3 separate regions of the Homo sapiens genome follow, and all the other regions are linked to region 1. The links are contacts of gene promoters, found by promoter capture Hi-C in blood cells and fetal thymus (Javierre and others, 2016). All regions are on one chromosome and are shown on one strand. The core of a region is centred on a gene start or on the middle of the fragment in contact, and the rest is flanking DNA. Distances in the headings are between cores, read along the strand shown.

Region 1 (4,555 bases), core at 1,051-3,550:
TTCCAAAAATAGAAGGCACCTGAGGAGGTGGTGTGTGACAACATGGGTGACAACACCAGAGGGTAGGGGACCCTTCTCAGGAAGGAAGCTCCAGGCCTTGCTCCACAACCTCTGTTACATTCTCCAAAGAGTTTAGAAGTAACACTGGAGTTGGTGAGAATTCAGATACATGAGGAGAAGCGAAGAGGAGGAAACAGCCTGGAAATAGCCTCAGAAACCTCAGACACCCAGAAGTGACAACCATAAAAATAACCAGACAACCACTGCAAGGGACTGTGACTGCGACTGCCATTCACTTAATCCATTTTTCTTGACTACCCACCATGTGTACCGCATTTGCAAGATACAGTGAGCCCTTGGCTTCAAGGTGCTTGTGATCTAGTCACACAGTCAGGTGGACCACTGAATAACATATGAGCTGGGTCCCCGTCCATCTTTACACAGCTCTCCACTCAGTGCCTGGCTCAGGGTGGGCATGCTGTATTTACAGCATGAAAAAATGAATGGAAGAATGAACAGAAGTGCCCAATGCAGACATACACAGCATGTGTTATGGGCTCTTGACTTCAACCAGGGAGGTAGCATGTTTGAAGCCTGGGCAAGAGAAAATTAAAGCTCCCATGCATGTTAGGAAGTGATTGCCTGGACCGGAGTCTGAAATCTCGATTTGAGCTCTTCTCTCTCCCCCTTTCACATCGGAGAGAAGATAAAAACAACCAGATCGGACCAACTCATCTCAGCAAGAATGGAGGGAGTCCCTTCCTATGTTCACACTCCTTTTCTTAACTTTTCCACATTGGACAGCACCCAGAAAACCTCCAGTGTGTCCGTCGCAGGAAACACCCTCTCTTCTCATCTGTAATTTCCTTGAGAGCATTTCCTTGTCATATTCTGTATCCTCCACAGCCCTTAATGCCCTGTGCTCCTTTCCTCATATGGCTGCTGCGCAACAAATGCCCATGGAATGAATGAAAGGGCAGCAGTCTTGGAGATTTGCTGAACCTCCGAGGAGCCCTTTACTCGGTGGAACCGCAGAAAATGATGGAACTTCCAAATCAGTGGAGAAGACTGTTGGTTAAACCATTTCCTGAAGCTTTGAAATGCATATCTACACACTTGAGAGGTTACCATTCCTTATGCTCAAGAAGCATAAAAGTCATACACAAGCCTAGCTTTGCAATTCCCCTGAATATCAAAATTAAAATGAACCACATCTATAAAGGGGTCAAATGTAACCAAACAGGAATATCTCATTCAACGACTCTTCTAAACTGCTAACAAAATTCAATGGCTAGTACATTTCTGCAAAACTCCCCACCTCTAAAATAAGAGTTTTTCAAGAATTAAAAAACAGTCTAAGAATTTTAAATGGTCAGGAATTCCCAAATGGTGGAGGGAGAAAGGACCTTAGGAAACCTATCCTCACTGCCTCTTAGGTCTAAAGAAGCCTAGGGCTTAGCAGGCGCCCAGGGCTCCCCTTCGACTGAGAGGTGGTCCAAGGGAGGCTGTATTCTTACCGTCTCTTGCTGCTTAATAATCTTGCCCTTGTCCAGCTCGGGCCCCAGGGAGGAAGGGGAAGAGGACGCGGAGGAAGAGGAGCTGGAGCTGGAGCTACTGCTGCTGGGGTAGTTGCTCTTCCCGTTCTTCTCCTGAGTGTCCACCTTGATGAGCCTGTTGATGTAGGTGCTGCAGCCCGAGCTCTTGGTTGCACCCCGGTGGGGCTCCTCCTCCGTGGCCCGGGAGTTTTTGCGGCCCTTGCCCGCGGCGGCCTGAATCAGACCCTGCAGGCTGTCGCGGGACAGCCGGCTGTCCTTGGGGCCGACGCCGGCCCTGCCGCTCCCCAGCTCGGCCGCCGAGTTCTTGCGGCCCTTGCCAGGACCCGGCCCAGCGCCGCCCGCCTCCGAGTTCTTGCGCAATTTGCCGCCGCCGCCCCCGGGCTTGGCCCGCTCCGACACGGTCTTCAGGTTCAGGGGGAACTCCTTGAACCACTTGGCCGCCATGAGGGGGCCCCGGCCGGCTCGGCCCAGGAGCGTCGGGGCCGTGGAGCAGGCGAGCGAGGAAGCCCAGCCCAGACACGCAGAGGCGCCAGGGGTCGGGGACCACTGCATTCCCCGTGACTGGGGCGCTGGAGGCCGCGGCGAGGCCCCGCGACGGCTGCTCCGTGCGCCCCCGGCCGGCCGTCGCCCACGCCCGGCAGGGTGGGGTTCTCACGGCTCGGGGCGCCGAGCGGGCGGGCGCTAGCCTCTGCTCCGGACACGGCAGGCGACAGGCACGACGCGCGGGGGGCCCCGCCCGGGCTCGTCTTCAACGCCTGCCCGGCCCGAGGACACCGTGGCTCTCGGAGGCGGCGGGCGCCGGGGGCTTCCCCCTGCTCTTTCCTCCTGCGGTGGGAGAGGCCAGGCCCACGGAAGCCCCCTGCGGCCCAGCCCACGCTCCCAGGGACCAGAGAGGACCGAGCGGAGGCGGCGGGAGTATCCCCGGCGCAGCGACAGACGGTGGACGGACGGCGAGCGGCCCATCAACTCCGCGCGCCCCTCCCCTCCGCGGCTGGCGCCTCCCAGCCCCGCCACCTCCTGCCCAGAGCTGGGGGCGGCGGGGTGAGCGCCATGGCAGAGGCGGGTCGGGCTGCGAGCTCTGGAGAAAGGGGCGGCGGCCGCACGTGCGGATCGGCCGCGCCCCACTGAGCAGAGAGCCCCCTTCTGCCGCCGACAGCCCGCGTCTGCACCGAGCCGGTCTCGGCCGGGCGCTGCCTTCACACGCGCCCAGGAGTGTCACGTGCGCCGCTCACCCCCGGGAAGGAAGCCCCTCGCCCACCCACTCCGCTCTACTCCACTCTTTCTGCAGACGTTATTTTTGGCGGTAGGGCAGAGGTTGCGGCCCGAGGTCCGGGCGCAGGGACAACGGTCGCCAGCTCCTGCGCTAGTTCCGTTACTCTTCGGTGGCACACGGTCCTGGGCAGCGCGAGGCTCTTCCCGCCGTGGCCGCCGGGGATTGGCTGCCGGCAAGCCCCGCCCCGTGCCCCCGGGCTCAGAGGGGGCGGAGCGCGGAGGGAGAAGGCGCGAAGGCTGGGCGTCGCGATCGCAGGTGCACGCGCGTGGCCCGCGAGACGAGGTATGGCTTGTCGGCCCCAGGTCCCGGGATGCCAGGCGAGGGTTGGGAGGGAGGGGCGTCGGCAGGCAGCCATGGGAAACGCCCTCGTCCCGACTGATGGGGGAAAGGGGTCGCTGTTCCCGCGGGGCCGTCGCTCGCTCGCGCCGGTTGGGAGCGGCCCTCCTAGTCTGGATTTGTGCGGGCGGGGAGTGCCGTGTGCAGAACTGTGGCCACTTTAAGGGAAAAGACGCCTCTGCCATTCCTCCCTCCCTTCGAAGCCCTTTAAAAGCTTTCTGAGGCCGGGCGCGGTGGCTCACGACTGTAATCCCAGCACTTTGGGAGGCCGAGGCGGGCAGATCACCTGAGATCAAGAGTTCGAGACCAGCCTGGCCAACATGGTGAAACCTGGTCTCTACTAAAAATACAAAAATTAGCCGGGCGTGGTGGTGCGCGCCTATGGTTGCAGCTACTCAGGAGGCTGAGGCAGGAGAATCGCTTGAACCCGGGAGGCGCAGGTTGCAGTGAGCTGAGATCAAGTCACTGCACTCCAGCCTGGGCGACAGAGCGAGACTCCGTCTCAAAAAGACAAAAAACAAACAAACAAAAAAACACCTTTCTGGTTTAAAAAAAGAAATTTAAACTTAGTTTACTGAACGGAAATCTTTTGGTTTAGCAAACTAAATGTGCTGAAGGGGCTGACCAACACTGAGTCCTCATATACAATGGAAACAGAATGATGGCGACTGTGGACGGCCTCATTTGTGTGGGTGGTGGTTTGTGAGGTGGGAAAGCTAAAATGAAGAAATGCGTGCTCATACTGACGTTCTTGAAAATGCGTAGTGACATTTTTTTAAAGCTTTATTGAGATATAATTCACATACCATAAAATTCACCTGTTTTAAGTGTGCACCTCAAGTGTTTTCAGTATATTTGGTGTGTTTACAGTACAACCATCGCAACAATCTAATTTTAGAACATCTCCATCACCCCCAAAAGAAATCTCCCGTCAATTAGCAGTCACTCCTCATTTCCCTCTCCGCCTTCCCAGTCCTAGACAGCCACTAATCTACTTTCTGTCTATATAGATTTGTCTAGTCAGGACTTTTCAGAGAAGTGGAATCATGCAATATGTGGCCTTCTTTCCCTTAGCATCATTTTTCAGATTCATCCAGGTCGTATAGCATGTATTACTACTACATTCGTTTTATATTGCCAAATAATATTCTATTGTATTGCTATACAGCACTTTATTCATTCATCAGTTGATGGATATTTGGATTGTTTTCACTTTTTGGCTATTATAAGCAACACTGCTATGAATATTTGTGGAAAAGTCTTTGTGTGGACACATATTTGAATTTCTCTTGAATAGTTACCCAGGAGTGGACTTGCTGGGTCATATCGTAATTCCCTGTCTAACTTTTTGAGAGCCTGCCAAACTTTTCCAAAGTGGCTGCACCATTTT
Region 2 (4,286 bases), core at 1,787-4,286, 560 kb after region 1:
CGGGGAAATGCTTTTGGGAGCTGTGGGCGCAACCCCAGTGGCAGTTATGTGTCCTGCACCCCTAGGTAAGTGAGGAAACCTGGCTCCTCCTTTGGGTTTCTGAGAGCCTTGGCCCTGCTCCTACTAACTCTGTGTGCCCTTCCCCCTCCCCACAGAGATGCCATTTGTGGGCAGCTCCAGTGCCAGACAGGTAGGACCCAGCCTCTGCTGGGCTCCATCCGGGATCTACTCTGGGAGACAATAGATGTGAATGGGACTGAGCTGAACTGCAGCTGGGTGCACCTGGACCTGGGCAGTGATGTGGCCCAGCCCCTCCTGACTCTGCCTGGCACAGCCTGTGGCCCTGGCCTGGTGAGCAGCCTGGGTGGGCAAGACCAGGTGTGAGAAGGGACATTTGGACCACAATGAACAGAGCCCAGACTTCACCATTCACCAATGTCAAAGGCAGGGACTCCAAGGGAAGTCAGTTTCTTACTTCAGATGGAGCAAAGTCCTATCAACTCACTATGCCTTGGTTTCCCCATCTGTAAACGCAGGGTATGGCCTCAACCTTATTGGCCTCCCAGTCCCATTAAAGCTTTGTGGGAATCTGATCCAGGCTCTTCTCTCCCTGGGTCAGGTGTGTATAGACCATCGATGCCAGCGTGTGGATCTCCTGGGGGCACAGGAATGTCGAAGCAAATGCCATGGACATGGGGTGAGCTGGGATGGGGGAAGTGGAAGGGGAGCAGAGAGCCTCTAGAGAGGAAAAGGATACTGGGCTTTGGAAATAGACATATCTGGGTTTTAATCCTTGCTCTACTACTTCCCAGTTGTGTGACCTCGGGCAGGTTACTAACTTTGCTGAGCTCAGTTTCCCCACCTATCAAATGGCTATAATAATAGTATCCCCATCCAGGGTACATGAGATGAGTATGAAAGCATCTAGCACAGGCTGGGCACAATGGCTCATGCCTATAATCACAGTTTTTTTGTTTGTTTGTTTGTTTTGTTTTGAGACAGAGTCTCGCTCTGTTGCCTAGGCTGGAGTGCGCTGGCGTGATCTCGGCTCACTGCAACCTCTGCCTCCCAGGCTCAAACATTACTCATGTCTCAGCCTCCCTACTCGCTGGGATTACAGTCACCCGCCACCATGCCCAGCTAATTTTTGTATTTTCAGTAGAGATGGGTTTCACCATGTTGGCCAGGCTAGTCTTGAACTTCTGACCTCAAGTGATCCTCCCGCCTCAGCCTCCCAAAGTGCTGGGATTATAGGGGTGAGCCACTGCACCCAGCCAAATCACAGTACTTTGGGAGGCCAAGGCAGGAGGATTACTTGAGGCCAGGAGTTCAAAACCAGCCTGGTCAACATAGTGAGACCCCCATCTCTTTCAAGGAAAAATTTAAAAATTATTCAGGCCTGCTGGTGCACACCTATGCTCCCAGCTACTTGGGAGGCTGAGGCAGGAGGACTGCTTGAGCCCAGGAGTTTGGGGCTGCAGTGAGCCATAATTGCACCACTGCACTCCAGCCTGGGCAACAGAGTGAGACTCCATCTTACTTGCTGTCTAAAATAAAATAAAATAAAACAAAACAAAACAAACACAAAGAAAGAAAGCATGTACCACAGTGCCCAGCACACAGAAGGAGCTCAGTAAGTGTTAGTTTGATCTAATTTGCTCTGGTATGGATAAAGACCCTCCCTCCGGGCTGTCTCTACACACATACCCAGCACAACCCCCAGTTGTAGAAATCTGAGATCTTGAAAAGCTAGAGACAAGGAAATAGTTCCAGAGTGCAGAGCTCCTCATTGCTCGCCTTGTACCTCCTAGGTCTGTGACAGCAACAGGCACTGCTACTGTGAGGAGGGCTGGGCACCCCCTGACTGCACCACTCAGCTCAAAGGTAGCATGGGGGTGGGGGACAGGGGCAGCTGGGAGGGCAAAGCGTCTCATGCTTTATCTTGCCCCCTCGGCCCTCTCTTTCTGACCCCCCTTTGCTGCTGGTTCCCTGAGTCTGTGCCCCTTGAACCCTTCACTCTCCCTGATCACTTGACTTCACTCCCTGCCCCCTGCGCCTTCATGGATCTAGAGTTCTTAGCCCCGTCCTCCCTTAAACCTGACTTCCGCCCACAGCAACCAGCTCCCTGACCACAGGGCTGCTCCTCAGCCTCCTGGTCTTATTGGTCCTGGTGATGCTTGGTGCCAGCTACTGGTACCGTGCCCGCCTGCACCAGCGACTCTGCCAGCTCAAGGGACCCACCTGCCAGTACAGGTATGAGCATCACCTCCCTGCTACCACTTCCTTCAACTGGGGACAGTGCTGAAGGCTGCCTCACCTCTGCAGCCCCTGCCACCTGGTTCTGAGCCCCAGGCCCCTTGGACCTTAAAGTTGCTGACTGCCATACCCCACACCTCCCTTCCCTATATGTGCCCACAGCTTTTTACCTCACAGCTGTGCCCCTGTGGGGTGGCTGGATTGCTAGGGCCATTTCTCCCCAGGAGCCCCTGTGCTGGATAAGTAGGGTCTTCCCTCAAGCTAATAAATACTGCCCCCCACCCCGGCCCTACCACAATTTTACCTAAACCACACATAAGTGCCTGCAAAGGGTTAACCCCACTCAGGGATGGCATATGGTAGAAAACAGGGTCTGAGGCTGGGCCCTCTCCCTTCTTGCCTTTCCTCATGCATAGGGCAGCCCAATCTGGTCCCTCTGAACGGCCAGGACCTCCGCAGAGGGCCCTGCTGGCACGAGGCACTAAGGTGAGTCCTGGATGCCAGAGGAAGGGGACTCCACCTTGGCCGGGCATCCAGCTTGGGCCCTGGGGGGTGCGCATTAAAGGCTCCAGACTCAGAGAAAGGCTAGCACTGCCCAAGAGTCAGTCGAAGGAGTCAGGGCCAGCCCTGCCCTCCCCTCCCCTGGCTACAGGCAGGGAAGCTGAGTCCAGAAGAGTGGGGAGGGCAGCCAGCTGGAGCAGGAGCTGCTGGGCTCCGTCCGCTGGCCAAGAGGTGGCTTTGAGAGGTGGATCTATCCATGCCCCCAGCAGTGACCCCAGGAGGGCACAAGGGCAGTGGTGCTCAGAATGGCCTTCCGTAGGCCCAGGTCACCATGTTAGAAGGGCTGGTGAGCATCCCCACCCTGAGCCCTCTGCTTGGATGATGGGAGTGTGTGCACACCTCCTCCCCACTCGCTCCCCACCTGCATGCACCTGCATAACTGCATGCACAGCACCCACTGCCCTGGGCCCCTGCTGGCCCCCCCTGGGCACTGACCCTTCCCTGCCCACTCTGTCTCTCTGCTTCCTCTTCCCCCTCTGTGCCTATCTGCCCCTCCTGCCCTCTCAGCAGGCTAGTGCTCTCAGCTTCCCGGCCCCCCCTTCCAGGCCGCTGCCGCCTGACCCTGTGTCCAAGAGACTCCAGGTAAATCTGGGCCAGGGCCCGCCCTGAGCCAAGGCAGGTGGGAGGCTTGGTACCCAACTGCAGTTCTCATCCCTGCTCCCTGCCAGTGGTGCTCTTCATTAGGTGATCGGGGTGCCCCTCAGCCTTCAGACACTCTGAGCCCCAGAAGCAGCAAAGGGTGAGCCTCCTGCCTTGGTTTCTACCACCATCTGGTGGTCAATGGCGGGACTGCAGTCGGCCAGGGACTGCGGTTGACCTACACCTTCCTCCCCTGAGACATCAGCTGGCATGCCTCCAAGCCCTCTGCGCATGCCCTCATTCTCTCCTGCCCCCTGGCTGACTTTGCATGTTGACTTGAACCCCTCTGGGGAATCTCTGTGCATGTCCACAGCCCCTGGTTATGCTCTCACAGCCACTGCCCCTCTCTCTGTTCAGGCTGAGCTGGCTGACCGACCCAATCCCCCTACCCGCCCTCTGCCCGCTGACCCGGTGGTGAGAAGCCCGAAGGTAACGGTGGGGGGAGAGAAGGGCACGGCCTCTCCCCCCACCTAGGGCTGTGGTGCTGGTAGCCATGACGGTGGTGGCCGTGGCGAGATGCCCCCTCAGTGCATGAGGGCACATATCCCGGTGGTGCCTTTAATGGTGACAGGTTTGTTTGCAGACAAGGGTGACCGCTGGTGCTGCCCCCAAGCTGGTGTTCCCCAGCACCAGTGCGTTGGGGGTGGGCAACATGACACCCCCCCACCTAAGCCGGCCTCCTGCCTTCTCTCCCTCAGTCTCAGGGGCCAGCCAAGCCCCCACCCCCAAGGAAGCCACTGCCTGCCGACCCCCAGGGCCGGTGCCCATCGGGTGACCTGCCCGGCCCAGGGGCTGGAATCCCGCCCCTAGTGGTACCCTCCAGGTAGGAG
Region 3 (4,555 bases), core at 1,172-3,671, 530 kb after region 1:
TAATAGAGACAGAGGCTCACTTTGTTGCAGAAAGGGTCTATAACTCCTTGCCTCAAGCAGTCTGCCTGCCTCACCCTTCCAAAGTGCTGGATTACAGGTGTGAGCCATGCTGCCTGCTCCACTCTCCAACTCTCCCCCGTCCCTCATCCCCCACCCCCTCAACACCCCTGTGATTTTAACAAAACTTTGGATGTAAATGCTGTCTCAGGAAGCCCCACCCCAGAGGCACCATTTCTCCCAGCCCCATCTTGGGTCCAGAGGCTTGCAGTCCAGGTCATTTGCTTTGGAGTTCAACCAGAGGAGAGCGGGCTGGGGCTGCTGAAGGAAGTCAGCTCCCAAAGCCAAAAAAGCCAGCCACTAGCTAAGCCCCCTGGGGAGGGGGCAGGGACTAGCTCCCAGCCCCGGACCCCTCACCTGCTCCCGGGATGGGTAGTAGGAGGCACAGATGACTCGCCGCAGCCGGCTGACATAGCTGCCAAACAGGGTGATGAAGAAGCATAGGCCATACATGACGCCTGGGAGCACAGCAGCCACAGTCAGCCTCACCAGCAGGCACAAGTGCCAGCCCACCCCTGGCGCCCCCCACATCCTCAGCAGTCTGCACCCCTCATTTCCCACATGGTGTCCACGCCCCCAGGGACCTCAGGGTGTAGTTGATACCAATGACTATGTAGCCAGTGCTGTCAGGCTCCGAGGGACGAAGGAGACAACGCCGGGACAAAATACTGATGTTGCCTTGCTGCAGGACATCAAATGCTGACACCAGGTCACGATAAATATTCCCAGCGTAGCCAGTACCTTCCACGGTTAGAGACACCAACACAGGACCTGGCACAAAGACACTGTGTGAGTGACACTCATGGCAGTTGCTATGCAGAAAACCCCACACCTTCTGGAATGAGGAAAGTGGAGCAGCGCAGGTCATAGGATGACTCAGACCCTTGGCTGGGGGCCTCTGATGCCTCAGGCACCCTCATGGTGCCCTGGGGCCTGACCTCAGTTCTGGCTCCTAGGACTGGCCCCATGGTCCAACTGGGTGGTACTGGTGTCTGGTCTTCCTATCCAAGCCACCATATCTAAGATGACCTTAATGGTCAGTGAGTCCACCCCCCGGCCTCCATGACCACCCAGAAGCATTTATTTTTTTTTTTAATTTATTTTTTGAGACAGGGTTTCACTTTGTCACCCAGGCTGGAGTGCAGTGGTGTGATCTTGGCTCACTGCAGCCTCAACTTCCCAGGTTTGAGTGATTCTCCTGCCTCAGCCTCCCAAGTTGCTGGGACTATAGGCACGTGCCACCACGACCGGCTATTTTTTTTTTTTTTTTTTTTTTGTAAAGAGATAGGGTTTCACCATGCTGGCCAGGCTGGTCTCAAACTCCTGAGCTCAAGCAATCCGCCTGCCTTAGCCTCCCAAAGTGCTAGGATTACAGGTGTGAGCCACCGAGTAAGACCCCCAGAAACATTTATTGGCTGAGCACTGACTGTGTAGCAGACACTTCGCCTGCCTTAGCCTCCCAAAGTGCTAGGATTACAGGTGTGAGCCACCGAGTAAGACCCCCAGAAACATTTATTGGCTGAGCACTGACTGTGTAGCAGACACTTAACCAAGTGCTTTATTGTTTGTTTTGGGGTTTTGGTTTTTGTTTTTTAGGAGTTTTTTACTTCTTTTTTTTTTTTTTTTTTTTTTTTGAGACAGGGTATCACTCTGTCACCCAGGCTGGAGTGCAGTGGTGTGATCTCGGCTCACTGCAGCCTCTGCCTCCTGGGTTCAAGTGATTCTTGAGCCTCAGCCTCCCAAGTAGCTGGGATTATAGGTGCCCACCACTATGCCTGGCTCATTTTTTTGTATTTTTAGTAGAGACAAGGTTTCACCATGTTGGCCATGCTGGTCTTGAACTCCTGACCTTAGGTGATCTGTCTGCCTCAGCCTCCCAAAGTGCTAGGATTACAGGCGTGAGCCACCGCACCTGGCTCACATTCTCAATTAATGGCTTACCAGGCACTCGACACACATAATTTATTTTATTTTATTTTATTTTATTATTATTATTTTAGACAGAGTTTCACTCTTGTTGCCCAGGCTGGAGTGCAGTGGCAGGATCTCGGCTCACTGCAACCTCTGCCTCCCAGGTTCAAGTGATTTTCCTGCCTCAGCCTCCCAAGTAGCTGGGATTACAGGCACCTGCCACGACGCCTGGCTAATTTTTTGTATTTTTAGTTGAGATGGGGTTTCATTATGTTGGCCAGCCTGGTCTCAAACTCCTGACTTCAGGTGATCTACCCGCCTCATCCTCCTAAAGTGCTAGGATTACAGGCATGAGCCACCCGCCTGGCCCCAACACACATAATCTAATTTATTCCTTACAGTGACCCAGAGAGGTTGCTACCATTATTATTCCACTATTCAGATGAGGAAACTGGGCCAGGACAGTGGCTCACGCCTGTAATACCAACACTTTGGAAGGCTGAGGTGGGTGGATCACCGGAGGTCAGGAGTTCGAGAGCAGCCTGAGCAATATGGTTAAACCCCGTCTCAACTAAAAATACAACTGGACATGGTGGCATGTGCCTGTAGTCCCAGCTACTTGGGAGGCTGAGACAGGAGAATTGCTTGAACCCGGGAGGCAGAGATTGTAGTGAGCCAAGATTGCACCACTGCACTCCAGCCTGGGTGACAGAGTGAGACTCCATCTCAAAAAAAAAGGCCAAGCATGGTGGCTCACACCTGTAATCCCAGCACTTTGGGAGGCCAAGGCCAGCAGATCATGAGGTCAAGAGATCAACACCATCCTGGCCAACACAGTGAAACCCCATCTCTACTAAAAATACAAAAATAAGCTGGGCATGGTGGCATGTGCCTGTAGTCCCAGCTACTCAGGAGGCTGAGGCAGGAGAATCACTTAAACCTGGGAGGCGGAGGCAGTGAGCCGAGATGGCGCCACTGCACTCCAGCCTGGTGACAGAACGAGACTCTGTCTCAAAAAAAAAAAAAAAAAAAGAGGAAACTGAAGCTGAAGAGGTTAAGCAACTTGCTGAAGGTCACCGCCTAATAAAGGACAGAGCTGGGATTTGAACCCTGGCCAGTGTGACTCTAGAGCTTGCATTTTTAACTACTCTGTAAGTTATAATCTTGACCTAGACATAGGTGTTACTAGGCAAAGCATAGAGTTGAAAGAGTGGCACACTTGTGGGCTGCTGAGTAACAGTGACATGGGGACATTCAGGCAGTCACCAGGACTGAGGATGGGAAGAGGAGAAGGCTTGGGAGCAGGCGGGGAGATCAGAAACAGGCCGAGGGGGCTGCAGTGGGTGAGTGGGAGGAGGCTGTCACGTAGGCACTCACTGCGGGCCACAATCTCCCCCTGCAGCTGGTGCCGGGCCAGGTCAAGCACCCAGAAGACAGCATAGTCTAGGAAGACTAGGAACAGCACGAGGAGGAGGTGTCGGATAAGGTTGAAGGTCTCCAGAATGTAAAAAAACTTCTCCCATTGGGACAAGAAGATGGAGCCTGAGCAGGAGTGGGATGGTCAGGAGGATGCTCCCCAGTTCTCCCGTCCACCAGATCCCAGTTCTTGGAGAGGCCTCCTGCCCCTAATCAGGTGTGGGCCCGTCTGCTCATCAGGAATACGGAAAAGAAAAGAAGCTGTGAGGACTCTGGCAAGGATGGAAAATACTCTTCAGGGGAGGGGGCTCCGTGGCTAGAAGGGAGGGGCCTGCCTAGCATCTCCACCTGGCCCTGTGGCCCATTCCAGTCTAAGGAGCCCTCCCTCCTAGGGCATCCCTCATCCCCTTACCTGCCTCCCCACCTCACAGGCAGTCCTCCCCCTCCATATTAGCACTTCCTGCCCACCCCGGGGAAGCCCTCCCAACTTGACTTCCCTCGCTCTGTGTCCATCCCCTGCTGTCCTGATGTCCAGGGTGCTCCCAGAAGCACCATCTGCCCCTCTTGTCTCTGGCTACTTTCTCCAAGGGTGTCTATGTTCCCCCTTTCAGACTGCGGGCTCCCCAAGGACCGGGCAGTGTCTTCCCTCAGCCTGAAAGTTCCTTAAGCTCTGGGTTGTGTCTCCTCCCTCTGGCCCCTGCCCCAAGCCCATCCTGAGCCCTGCCTGTGCAGGGGCTTAGGGGCAGGGCAGCGGGGTGGGGGGAAGCCCTGGCCTCCCTGGCTTGGGCTCTCCCTGTCCTCAGGGCCCTCACCCGGTGGGATGTAGCGCCTGGCCTCGTGAGCACTGAGCGGTAGCACTGTGGGCAGCCCTGCCGTGGAGCGCACAGCCTCCATGCGCAGGAATCGGCTAGTGATGTAGATATTGTCATAATGGTCCCAGTTCAGGTAACAATACCGGTAAAATAGGGCTCTGGGAAGGGGAGGTGGAGCACATGTGAGGCCCCTTAGGACCCCAGGCCAGACCCCACAGGGCATCCGCGCTTCAACCCCACAACTTCAACCTCCCTGGATGCTGGGGCAGGGAGAAATGAGCTGCTCCCTGCAGCCCTGGCCCTGCACCCCCGGCCCTGCATCCCCCACGCTGCCCGGCAGCCCCTCACTGGAGGTAGAG

What was found. Contacts are between HindIII fragments. The CHiCAGO score rates a contact against its expected background, and 5 or more counts as called.
Region 2: a fragment that was not itself captured here is called in contact with the fragment with the promoter of TDRD10 in region 1 in 4 of 17 cell types (naive B cells, non-activated CD4 T cells, activated CD4 T cells and 1 more); the score reaches 7.5 in naive B cells.
Region 3: a fragment that was not itself captured here is called in contact with the fragment with the promoter of TDRD10 in region 1 in 1 of 17 cell types (activated CD4 T cells); the score reaches 5.8 in activated CD4 T cells.

Annotation. Positions count from the first base shown.
Region 1 is chr1:154,499,919-154,504,473 of GRCh38, forward strand. TDRD10 (tudor domain containing 10) reads left to right here and starts at 2,301. Exons shown (of 13, transcript NM_182499.4): 1 at 2,301-3,111. SHE (Src homology 2 domain containing E) reads right to left here and starts at 2,494. Exons shown (of 6, transcript NM_001010846.3): 1 at 1,518-2,494. The coding sequence starts at 2,108. The HindIII fragment of the contact is 2,286 bases long and covers 1,092-3,377 here.
Region 2 is chr1:155,058,091-155,062,376 of GRCh38, forward strand. It overlaps ADAM15 (ADAM metallopeptidase domain 15), which reads left to right. Exons shown (of 23, transcript NM_207197.3): 14 at 1-65; 15 at 156-351; 16 at 620-697; 17 at 1,812-1,884; 18 at 2,115-2,253; 19 at 2,673-2,742; 20 at 3,325-3,399; 21 at 3,814-3,885; 22 at 4,155-4,279. The region is part of intron 1 of DCST1-AS1 (DCST1 antisense RNA 1); the gene reads right to left. It overlaps ADAM15-EFNA4 (ADAM15-EFNA4 readthrough), which reads left to right. Exons shown (of 26, transcript NR_176418.1): 14 at 1-65; 15 at 156-351; 16 at 620-697; 17 at 1,812-1,884; 18 at 2,115-2,253; 19 at 2,673-2,742; 20 at 4,155-4,279. Among named protein-coding and RNA genes, the nearest start is that of EFNA4, 3.5 kb to the right of the region's middle. The HindIII fragment of the contact is 4,923 bases long and covers 576-4,286 here.
Region 3 is chr1:155,025,888-155,030,442 of GRCh38, forward strand. It overlaps DCST2 (DC-STAMP domain containing 2), which reads right to left. Exons shown (of 15, transcript NM_144622.3): 6 at 4,545-4,555; 7 at 4,197-4,354; 8 at 3,346-3,510; 9 at 661-828; 10 at 415-515. Among named protein-coding and RNA genes, the nearest start is that of DCST2, 5.6 kb to the right of the region's middle. The HindIII fragment of the contact is 6,271 bases long and covers 1-4,555 here.